2 separate regions of the Homo sapiens genome follow, and region 1 is linked to region 2. The links are contacts of gene promoters, found by promoter capture Hi-C in human tissues and cell types (Jung and others, 2019). All regions are on one chromosome and are shown on one strand. Each heading gives the region's core, a stretch centred on a gene start or on the middle of the fragment in contact. The rest is flanking DNA. Distances are from core to core; before and after follow the strand shown. Region 1 overlaps VRK3 (VRK serine/threonine kinase 3). Region 2 holds the start of TSKS (testis specific serine kinase substrate).

Evidence for each region. Contacts are between HindIII fragments. The study calls those that stand out against the background at their distance.
Region 1: a fragment that was not itself captured here is called in contact with the fragment with the promoter of TSKS in region 2 in 2 of the 25 tissues and cell types used here (lymphoblastoid cells and spleen).

The regions. Positions count from the first base shown.
Region 1 is chr19:50,004,119-50,009,605 of GRCh38, reverse strand. VRK3 (VRK serine/threonine kinase 3) reads left to right here. Exons shown (of 15, transcript NM_016440.4): 4 at 221-370; 5 at 1,780-2,037. Among named protein-coding and RNA genes, the nearest start is that of VRK3, 19 kb to the left of the region's middle. RefSeq lists a silencer at 5,397-5,456. The HindIII fragment of the contact is 3,791 bases long and covers 1-3,439 here.
Region 2 is chr19:49,762,056-49,765,550 of GRCh38, reverse strand. It overlaps TSKS (testis specific serine kinase substrate), which reads left to right and starts at 2,245. Exons shown (of 11, transcript NM_021733.2): 1 at 2,245-2,473; 2 at 3,319-3,495. The coding sequence starts at 2,304. It also overlaps the pseudogene RNU6-841P. RefSeq lists an enhancer at 3,492-3,495. The HindIII fragment of the contact is 39,317 bases long and covers 1-3,495 here.

The DNA of each region.
Region 1 (5,487 bases), core at 295-2,794, 240 kb before region 2:
GCAAAGTGCTGGAAGATACAAGAGAGGCAAAGACCTAAGAAGGAGAGAACAACTAAAAGGAACAGTTTGCTCATATATTTACATAATAGAAGAAGCAAGAATTGGTGTTGAGGGCCAAAGAGAACAGCATAGCTGAGTATAACCTCAGGGCTCCCAGTCCAATGGTGCCTGCAGAGGGGCCTTTGTAACTCCAGTCTGCATTTTGTCTGCCTTTCTTTAGGCTCAAAGAGAGGGCTGAACTCCAGTTTTGAAACCTCTCCTAAGAAAGTGAAATGGTCCAGCACCGTCACCTCTCCCCGATTATCCCTCTTCTCAGATGGTGACAGTTCTGAGTCTGAAGATACTCTGAGTTCCTCTGAGAGATCCAAAGGTAAGAGTTAAGGTCTATCTGGCCTGACTCTTAAGTGGAGCAAAGTTAGGTCATCTGATGATCTTTGGGACAAAACTGCCACAGCCCCGGCTCAAACATCATCCATCCCTGCCTGGACTCTGACTCCAGCAGCTTCCCCAGCCTCCCATCTCCCCCTCCAGTCTGCCTCTATATGGCCCCAGATGGGTCTTTCAGCACCTAGAGCTGCCCCGGCCCCTCCCTGCACACAGACCCCTACTGTTCCTGGTGCCCTCAGACCAAGCTCTTCAGTCTGGTATCTGTGTGGCCTGGTTCCTGCTTTAGCCCTCAACACAGTCTTTGCCCAGAAAACACTTTTGGGGATTAACCTTGGTCTTTGCTAAGCCTGTTCCCTCAGCCCAGGGCACTCTCACCTTCGTTCTTGGCCTTGTGTACTGCCACTCAGCCGATACTGGTCTCTAGGAAGCTTCTCTTGAGTGCCATAGGCTCGCATCCAGACCTCCTCATCGTCCGCCAGAGCCTCTTTCCAGCCTCTTTGGCGCCCCCCCGTGCCTGCTGCAGCCTTCATTGGAGCGCATGTCAGTCTAGGCTCCACATCCCTTTCGGCCTCACTTTCTGGGCTGGGGGCCCTTTGCAGGTAGGGACCCAGCACAATTAGTGTATATACCCTCTGCCCAGCCAGTGCCCAGGACACGGGAGGCCTGAGGACTATGTTCCTTCTCCTGTTCACTGAGCCCCTGGATCTGAAGCCACAGCCACAGTGGCAGTGTGAGGCGTCCCCTTTGCTCCTCATTATCCTCTGGGCCCAGAGGCCTCTTGCCATTACTTGCCTTTAGGGGATGGTGGGTGGGAGGAACAGAGTAAGCGATGTCTTTTCCTGTGTCCAAGTCTGTCTCCCACCACACCCACCCCATTCTCTTGCCAGGCTAGGAGCCCTTCTAGGGCAGGGCTTTGGTCTAACAAATTTTTTGGCCCTTTTCTATCTCAGGACTGAGTCCTTTTTCAGGATGTTTTTGGGTAAATGTCTAGAATGTCCTTTATTCCCTGGCAAACTTCTCCTCATCCAACAAGATCCAACTCTAACATCCCTTCCTCCAGGAAGCCTACCCTGACTTCTCCAGGCAGGATCTCTTTCTCTTTTGGGCCCTAATATCTGTCTGTACTGCCCTGTCTCAGACCCGCATCTGACTAGCTGTGTCTAGAGCAGACTTGCCCACCAAACTGGGCACTCCTGAGGGAAGGATGCAGGTCCGACTCCTATCTGGTGCCCCAACATCATCACACAAAGGCCTGACTCATAGAAGGTCCCAGGAAATGTTTGTTGAATGAACGAATTTGTAAAGGAACAGTATTTTGCGTGCTGTTTCACTCCCCATCTAACTTTTCTCTCCTGGATGGTGCTTTTACTTTATTCTTACATCCTCCTGCAGGCTCCGGGAGCAGACCCCCAACCCCCAAAAGCAGCCCTCAGAAGACCAGGAAGAGCCCTCAGGTGACCAGGGGTAGCCCTCAGAAGACCAGCTGTAGCCCTCAGAAGACCAGGCAGAGCCCTCAGACGCTGAAGCGGAGCCGAGTGACCACCTCACTTGAAGCTTTGCCCACAGGGACAGTGCTGACAGACAAGAGTGGGCGACAGTGGAAGCTGAAGTCCTTCCAGACCAGGGACAACCAGGGCATTCTCTATGAAGGTACACTCTGTCCATGGGCGGCCAGGGACTGGGTCGTCTCAGCACCAGGACAGTGGGAGGGGACCCCGTTCTGAGAATGGGAATGGAAGCCACATCCCTAGCTGCAGACCTGTCGCTAGGCAACTTTCTCTTAGACCTTGGACTCTATACCTACCCACCTGCAGGGCCGGGCAATAGTGGGAATGAGTGCAGCAGGCTGGAGTAAGGCAGTTGGGAGTGGCGGGGACTGCGGCCAGTTGGCATGTGCCCTGTGTGAAGTGTGCCCCTCCTCACCCCACCTGCTACCTGCTATTGTCACGTGGGAGTGCAGGCCCAGGGGCTGCATGTTAAGGATGGTTGTTCTGGCCAGTGTGCAGAGAGAGGATGGATCCCCACGTAAAATTTGGTTCAAACATCGAGACTGATGATGTCACACACACACCAAGAGGATGTGAGAGGTTTATTGCTTACATAATAGGGGTCTCTGTGGAGAGCAGGCAGGCCTCCCACACAGATCTGAGATGCCTTGAGAGTGAGGAAAGGAGACTGGTCAGGTGTTTCATCGTGCTTGGGGGTGGGGCTGGGCTCAGGGTTTCTGCACAGGGGCCAACACCATGCATGGTTTGAGTCTCGTGGATGCACACCCCAAAGGAGGGAGCACCCAAGCTTGCTCATCCGCTCACCCAGGTGTGGGATGGAAGGGGAGGAGGGAGGCACAAGGCTGAAAAGCTCAGACTCTGTTACAATGAGGAAAATAATTATGGCAGTAGTATTAGTATTAACTGTAATAAATATTGAGTGCTTCTGCAAGGCCAGGCCTGTTCTAAGCACTTTACATGGGTTTTTCTTTTCCTTTCTTTTCTTTTTGGAACTTTTTAATTGAGATAAAACTCACATAAAAGTTATTCTTTTATTGGCCAGGCGCGGTGGCTCACGCCTGTAATCCCAGCACTTTGGGAGGCCGAGACAGGCGGATCACGAGGTCAGGAGATCGAGACCATCCTGGCTAACGCGGTGAAACCCTGTCTCTACTAAAAATACAAAAAATTAGCCGGGTGTGGTGGCTGGCACCTGTAGTCCCAGCTACTTGGGAGGCTGAGGCAGGAGAATGGCGTGAACCCGGGAGGCAGAGCTTGCAGTGAGCCGAGGTTGCACCACTGCACTCCATCCTGGGTGACAGAGCGAGACTCCGTCTCAAAAAAAAAAATTATTCAGTGAGACTCCATGTCAAACAAAAAGTTATTCTTTTATTATTATTATTTATTATTTTTTATTTTTTTGAGAGAGAGTCTTGCTCTGTCACCCAGGCTGGAGTGCAGTGGCACGATCTCGGCTTTTAACAACCTCCACCTCCTAGGTTCAAGCGATTCTCCTGCCTCAGCCTCTCAAGTAGCTGAGATTACAAGCGCATGCCACCACACCGGGCTAAATTTTTTTATTTTTTTATTTTTATTTTTTGTATTTTTAGTAGAGACAGGGTGTTACCATGTTGGCCAGGCTGGTCTCGAACAGCTGACCTCAAGTGATCCACCTACCTCAGCCTCCCAAAGTGCTGGGATTACAGGCATGAGCCACCACGAAAATTCATTCTTTTAAAGGGTGCAACTGAGTGGCCTTCAGGATATTCAGAGTGTTATGCAACCATCGTCACTATCTAATTCCAGGACGTTTCTGTCACCCCAAAAAGAAACCCAGTAGTTCTGAGCCATCACTCTGATTCTTCCCCCAGTCCACTGGCAGCCACTAACCGCCTTTCTCCCTCCGTGGATTTGCCCCTTCTGGGTGTTCACAGAAGTGGAGTCCTGCGCTGTGTGGCCTCTTGTGTCTGGCATCCCTCACCCAGCGGCGTGTGCTCAAGGTGCATCCATGCTGTGGCGCGTCACTGCCGCACTCCTTTTATGGCTGCGTGATATTCTGCTGTATGGGAACACCCCATGTGGCTTAGCCACTTAGCAGCTGATGGGCGTTTGGGTAGTTTCCGCTTTGGGCTGTTATGAGTAACGCTGCCATGAATATTTGCTTACAAGTTATTTGATGGGCAGAGGTTTGCTAAATTCTCACCGCAGCCTTAGGATGTCAGTACTATCCCTATCCCCATTTTATACATGAGGAACATGGATCCCAGAGATGTGAATTATTAGGCTCTGGGCTCCAGAATCTTCCAAGTTTTCCAGGAAAAGCTTGAAACCTAGATTTCAATAGGAAATCTTTGAATTGGAAGTGCCTGCTGGCCAGACAGGCACGTAGACAATTTTGAGCCTTCCGTTGGCCATCCCTGCCTTGAAGTCTGGGCAGGTGGGCAGGACAGCTGGTGTTTCAGACAGCCCCGAATCTGAGTCCTGACTTGGCTCCGACACACTGAGGGAGCCCCAGCAAACAGCCCAGGCACTCTGTGCCTTGATGTCCTCCACTGGAAAAGTGAGATGACGCCTTGTCCCCTGTCTCCTGGGGCTGTTGGCTCAAATGATGATAGGAGATGGAGGCCAAGCACTTGGAAAACTGTACAGGGTCCTTCCCAGGCAGAGGTAGGCAGTGTTAATAACAGAGGGACAGATAGGCAGGGCCAGGAAAGGTGAGGGAGAGGGGAAAGAGTGTGACCAAGACCAAGCAGGAGCAAGAGAAAGAGGGCCGTGGCTAACACCTAGGGAGCACTCACCTGTGCCAGCACTTTTATTTTTAAGAGATGGAGTCTCGCTCCATCACCCAGGCTGGAGTGCGGTTGTGCAATCACGGCTCACTGCAGCCTCAACCTCCCAGGCTCAAGTGATTCTCCCCCCTCAGCCTCCCGAGTAGCTTGGACTACAGGCAGGCGCCACCACGCCAGGCTAATTTTTTAATTTTTTTTAAATAGAGACAGTCTCACTGTGTTGCCCAGGCTGGTCCCAAACTCCTGGGCTCAAGCGATCCTCCCGCCTCAGCCTCCTAAAGTGCTGGGATTACAGGCAGGATCCCATGCCAGACACTTTGGGAACTCTCTGTGTCTTACCCATGTAATGCTGCCAGCCACACTGTGAGATAGGCACCCATATTACCCCATCCTGCAACTGGGGTACAGAGAGAGGAAGCTACTTGCCCAAGGGCACACAGCCTGGAAGTAGTAGAGCTGGGATTTGAACGCAGGCACTCTGGCTTCTCCCAAGAAAGGGAGAGAAAGGAGAAGGAGAGGGCAGGGAGAAAGAGCGAGAAGGGATCATGATGAGAAGGAATGAGGGGCCGAGGAGCACAGAGGGAGGAGAAAGGGAGAAGGATGAAAACCAACAGTAAGAAAGAGATTGAGGTGAGAGAGCAGGGTGGGGAGAGGGCAGGAGGGCGGGGAAGGAAGAGGGAGAAGGAGAGGAAAACACACAGAGCCAGGAGCTCCTGAGAGAAGAAACCACGCTTGACCTCCCCCAGAAACCCACAGTGGAAGCACAGGAGGAGCTACTCTGGGCCAATGTGGTTTTGGTTTTCCCTTATATGACTCAGGTTGTT
Region 2 (3,495 bases), core at 996-3,495:
GAGGACAGAAATTGCTCAGCTGTTTTAGTCACAGGGAGAGTCCATTTCTAATATGGGAGGGGGGTGCTGTTTGCCCCTGAAGAACATAAAGCAGCCCCATTAAACACAAGAAAAATTATTAATCCCAGGACTTGAAGTTCTTTTTTTTTTTTTTTGAGATGGAGTCTCGCTCTGTCGCCCAGGCTGGGGTGCAGTGGCGCGATCTCAGCTCACTGCAACCTCCGCCTCCCGGGTTCACGCCATTCTCCTGCCTCAGCCTCCCAAGTAGCTGGGACTACAGGCGCACGCCACCATGCCTGGCTAATTTTTTGTGTTTTTAGTAGAGACGGGGTTTCACCGTGTTAGCCAGGATGGTCTCGATCTCCTGACCTTGTGATCCGCCCACCTCGGCCTCCCAAAGTGCTGGAATTACAGGCGTGAGCCACTGCGCCCGGCCTTTTTTTTTTTTCTTTTTTTTGAGACAGAGTCTCTCTCTGTCCCCCAGGCTGGAGTTCAGTGACTCAATCTCGGCTCACTGTAACCTCTTCCTCCCGAGTTAAAGCGATTTTCCTGCCTCAGCCTCCTAAGTAGCTGGGATTACAGGCACCCGTCATCATGCTCGCCTAATTTTTGTATTTTTGTAGAGACAGTGTTTCACTATGTTGGCCAGGCTGGTCTTGAACTCCTAACCTCAGGTGATCCGCCCGCCTCGGCCTCCCAAAGTGCTGGGATTACAGGTGTGAGACACCGCGCCCAGCCAGGAGTTCTTTATTATAGAAAGATTAAGTGTTCCAAGAACTGGAGTCCATTCATGACCAGGAAGAAGTACTTTCTCCCTGGGGATAACAGCATTTAAAATGTCTATTAGCAGTGATGTTTGAACTAGTCTTTTTGAGAAGTGTGAAGAGAACAGGAAAAGTCTGTCCCTAAATAGCAGGGCAGTGCTCGCTTCGACAGCACATGTATTAACATTGGAACGATACAGAGAAGATTAGCATGGGCCCTGCGCAAAGACCACATGCAAATTTGTGACATGTTCCATATATTTTTTAAATACTTTGGGCGGGCGGGGCGCAGTGGCTCACACCTGTAATTCCAATGCTTTGGGAGGCTGAAGTGGGCAGATCACGAGGTCAGGAGTTGGAGACTAGCCTAGCCAACACAGTGAAACCCTGTCTCTACTAAAAATACAAAAAAAAAATTAGATGGGTGTGGTGGCAGGTACCTGTAGTCCCAGCTACTCAGGAGGCTGAGGCAGGAGAATCGCTTGAAACTGGGAGGTAGAGGTTGCAATGAGCCAAGATCACGCCACTGCACTCCAGCCTGGGTGTCAGAGCGAGACTCCATCTAAAAAAAAAAAAAAAAAATTATAGCGGAGCATGGTGGCTCATGTCTGTAATCCCACACTTTGGGAGGCTAAGGCGGGTGGACCATTTGAGGTCGGGAGTTTGAGACCAACTTGGCCAACATGGTGAAACCCGTCTCTACTAAAAATACAAAAATTAGCCGGACATTGTGGCCAGCGCCTGTAGTCCCAGCTACTGGGGAGGCTGAGGCAGGAGAATCGGTTGAACCCCGGGAGGTGGAGGTTGCAATGAGCTGAGATCGCGCCACTGAACTCCAGCCTCCATGACAGAGAGAGACTCTGTCTCAAAAAAAATAAAAAGTATTAAAGAAAATAATAAATAAATAAACGGGGGAGGGGGATACCACCCTCTGTCCTGCCCCAACTCTCTACCTTCCTCTCCTCCCTCACCTTCTACCCTGACCCCGAGGCCCACCGCACCTAGCTTTCTTTTGTTGATCTACCTGTATATTGCCTTTCCCCCGACCCCGACGCCCCATAGAATATGAGACCCTCCAGGTCAGGGTCTGGATCTCAGCCCTCTTCGACCACAGTCTCTCAAACCCCAGCCAATTGTCAAATCCAGGAAGCTACATGAAGAATCAAGAACAAGTGCACAGGGCTGTGTGACCCCACGCTTAGTCTCAGGGAGAGGGAAGTTGGACCTCTCCCAAGAATCCGTGGGCCGACCCATTGTTAAGTTACAGGCTAGCATGAATCCATCCACTGGAGCTCTGAAGACGGGGGGCACATTGGGCATGTAACTAGAATCCTGAACAGGAGGAGTCCACTGAGAACCCTAGGGGAATGACCTGGGCCAGCATCTCTCCCTACCCTGTGCCCCCCACTCACTGGGGCCCAGTGGTTGGGTCCTTTGTGAGGCAGGCTGAGGGGACAGTGGATCCTGAGGGTCTGTGGTCACAGTAGGTAGGAAGTCTCAGAGGAAGGAGCCCCTCCCTGGGAGCCAGACCCCCACACCATGGCGAGCGTGGTGGTGAAGACGATCTGGCAGTCCAAAGAGATCCATGAGGCCGGGGACACCCCCACGGGGGTGGAGAGCTGCTCCCAGCTAGTCCCAGAGGCTCCCCGGAGGGTGACCAGCCGGGCCAAGGGGATCCCGAAGAAAAAGAAGGCCGTGTCGTTCCACGGGTGGGTTTGTTGCACACTGTCAGGGATGGTTCTAATGCCCAGCACTACCTCCAACAGAGCAGGAGTCCGACTGTGGGTGCTAGAGGAAGGGGAGGGGGAAAAGCCAGCAGGTCGGGGGCAGGAAAGAGGGCAGCAGTGAAGAGACATCAAGTCACAGGGAGGTAGAGAGGAAGAAGGTAATGGGGATGGATGGAGGGAGGAAGAAGGTAATGGGGATGGATGGAGAGAGGAAAAAGCCAGTGGGGAGGGAAGAAGGAGAAGGGAGGCTAGTGAATGAAGAAGAAAGTAGGTGGCAGAGAAGGGAGGAGAAAGTAGGCAGCGGGGAAGGAGAAGAAGAAAGTAGACAGTGGTGGTCGGGCACGGTGGCTCACGCCTGTAATCCCAGCACTTTGGGAGGCCGAGGCAGGTGGATCATGAGGTCAGGAGTTCAAAACCAGCTTGGCCAACATGGTGAAAAGCCATCTCTACTAAAAATACTAAAATTAGCTGGGCGTGATGGCACATGCCTATAACCCCAGCTACTCAGGAGGCTGAGGCAGGAGAATTGCTTGAACTGGGACCCGCAGTCGGAGGTTGCAGTGAGCTGAGATCGCGCCACTGCACTCCAGCCTGGGCAACAGAGTGAGACTCTGTCTCAAAAAAAAAAAAAAAAGAAAGAAAGAAAAAAGAAAGAAAGTAGGCAGCACAGGGAAGGAGAATAAAGTAGGCAGCGGGGACAGAGAAGGGAGAAACTTATATACAGTGAGGGTGGAGTCACAGGGGGTGAGGTATGGAGAAAGGAAGGCAGGAGGGCCCAGACACCCTGGGGCTGCTTCTCCACTTTTCTGCCTGTTTCTTCTCTGCAGGGTGGAGCCCCAGATGTCCCATCAGCCCATGCACTGGTGCCTGAACCTCAAACGGTCCTCGGCCTGCACCAACGTGTCACTGCTCAACCTGGCCGCCATGGAGCCCACTGACTCCACGGGGACAGACTCCACAGTGGAAGACCTCAGCGGCCAACTCACACTGGCTGGGCCCCCTGC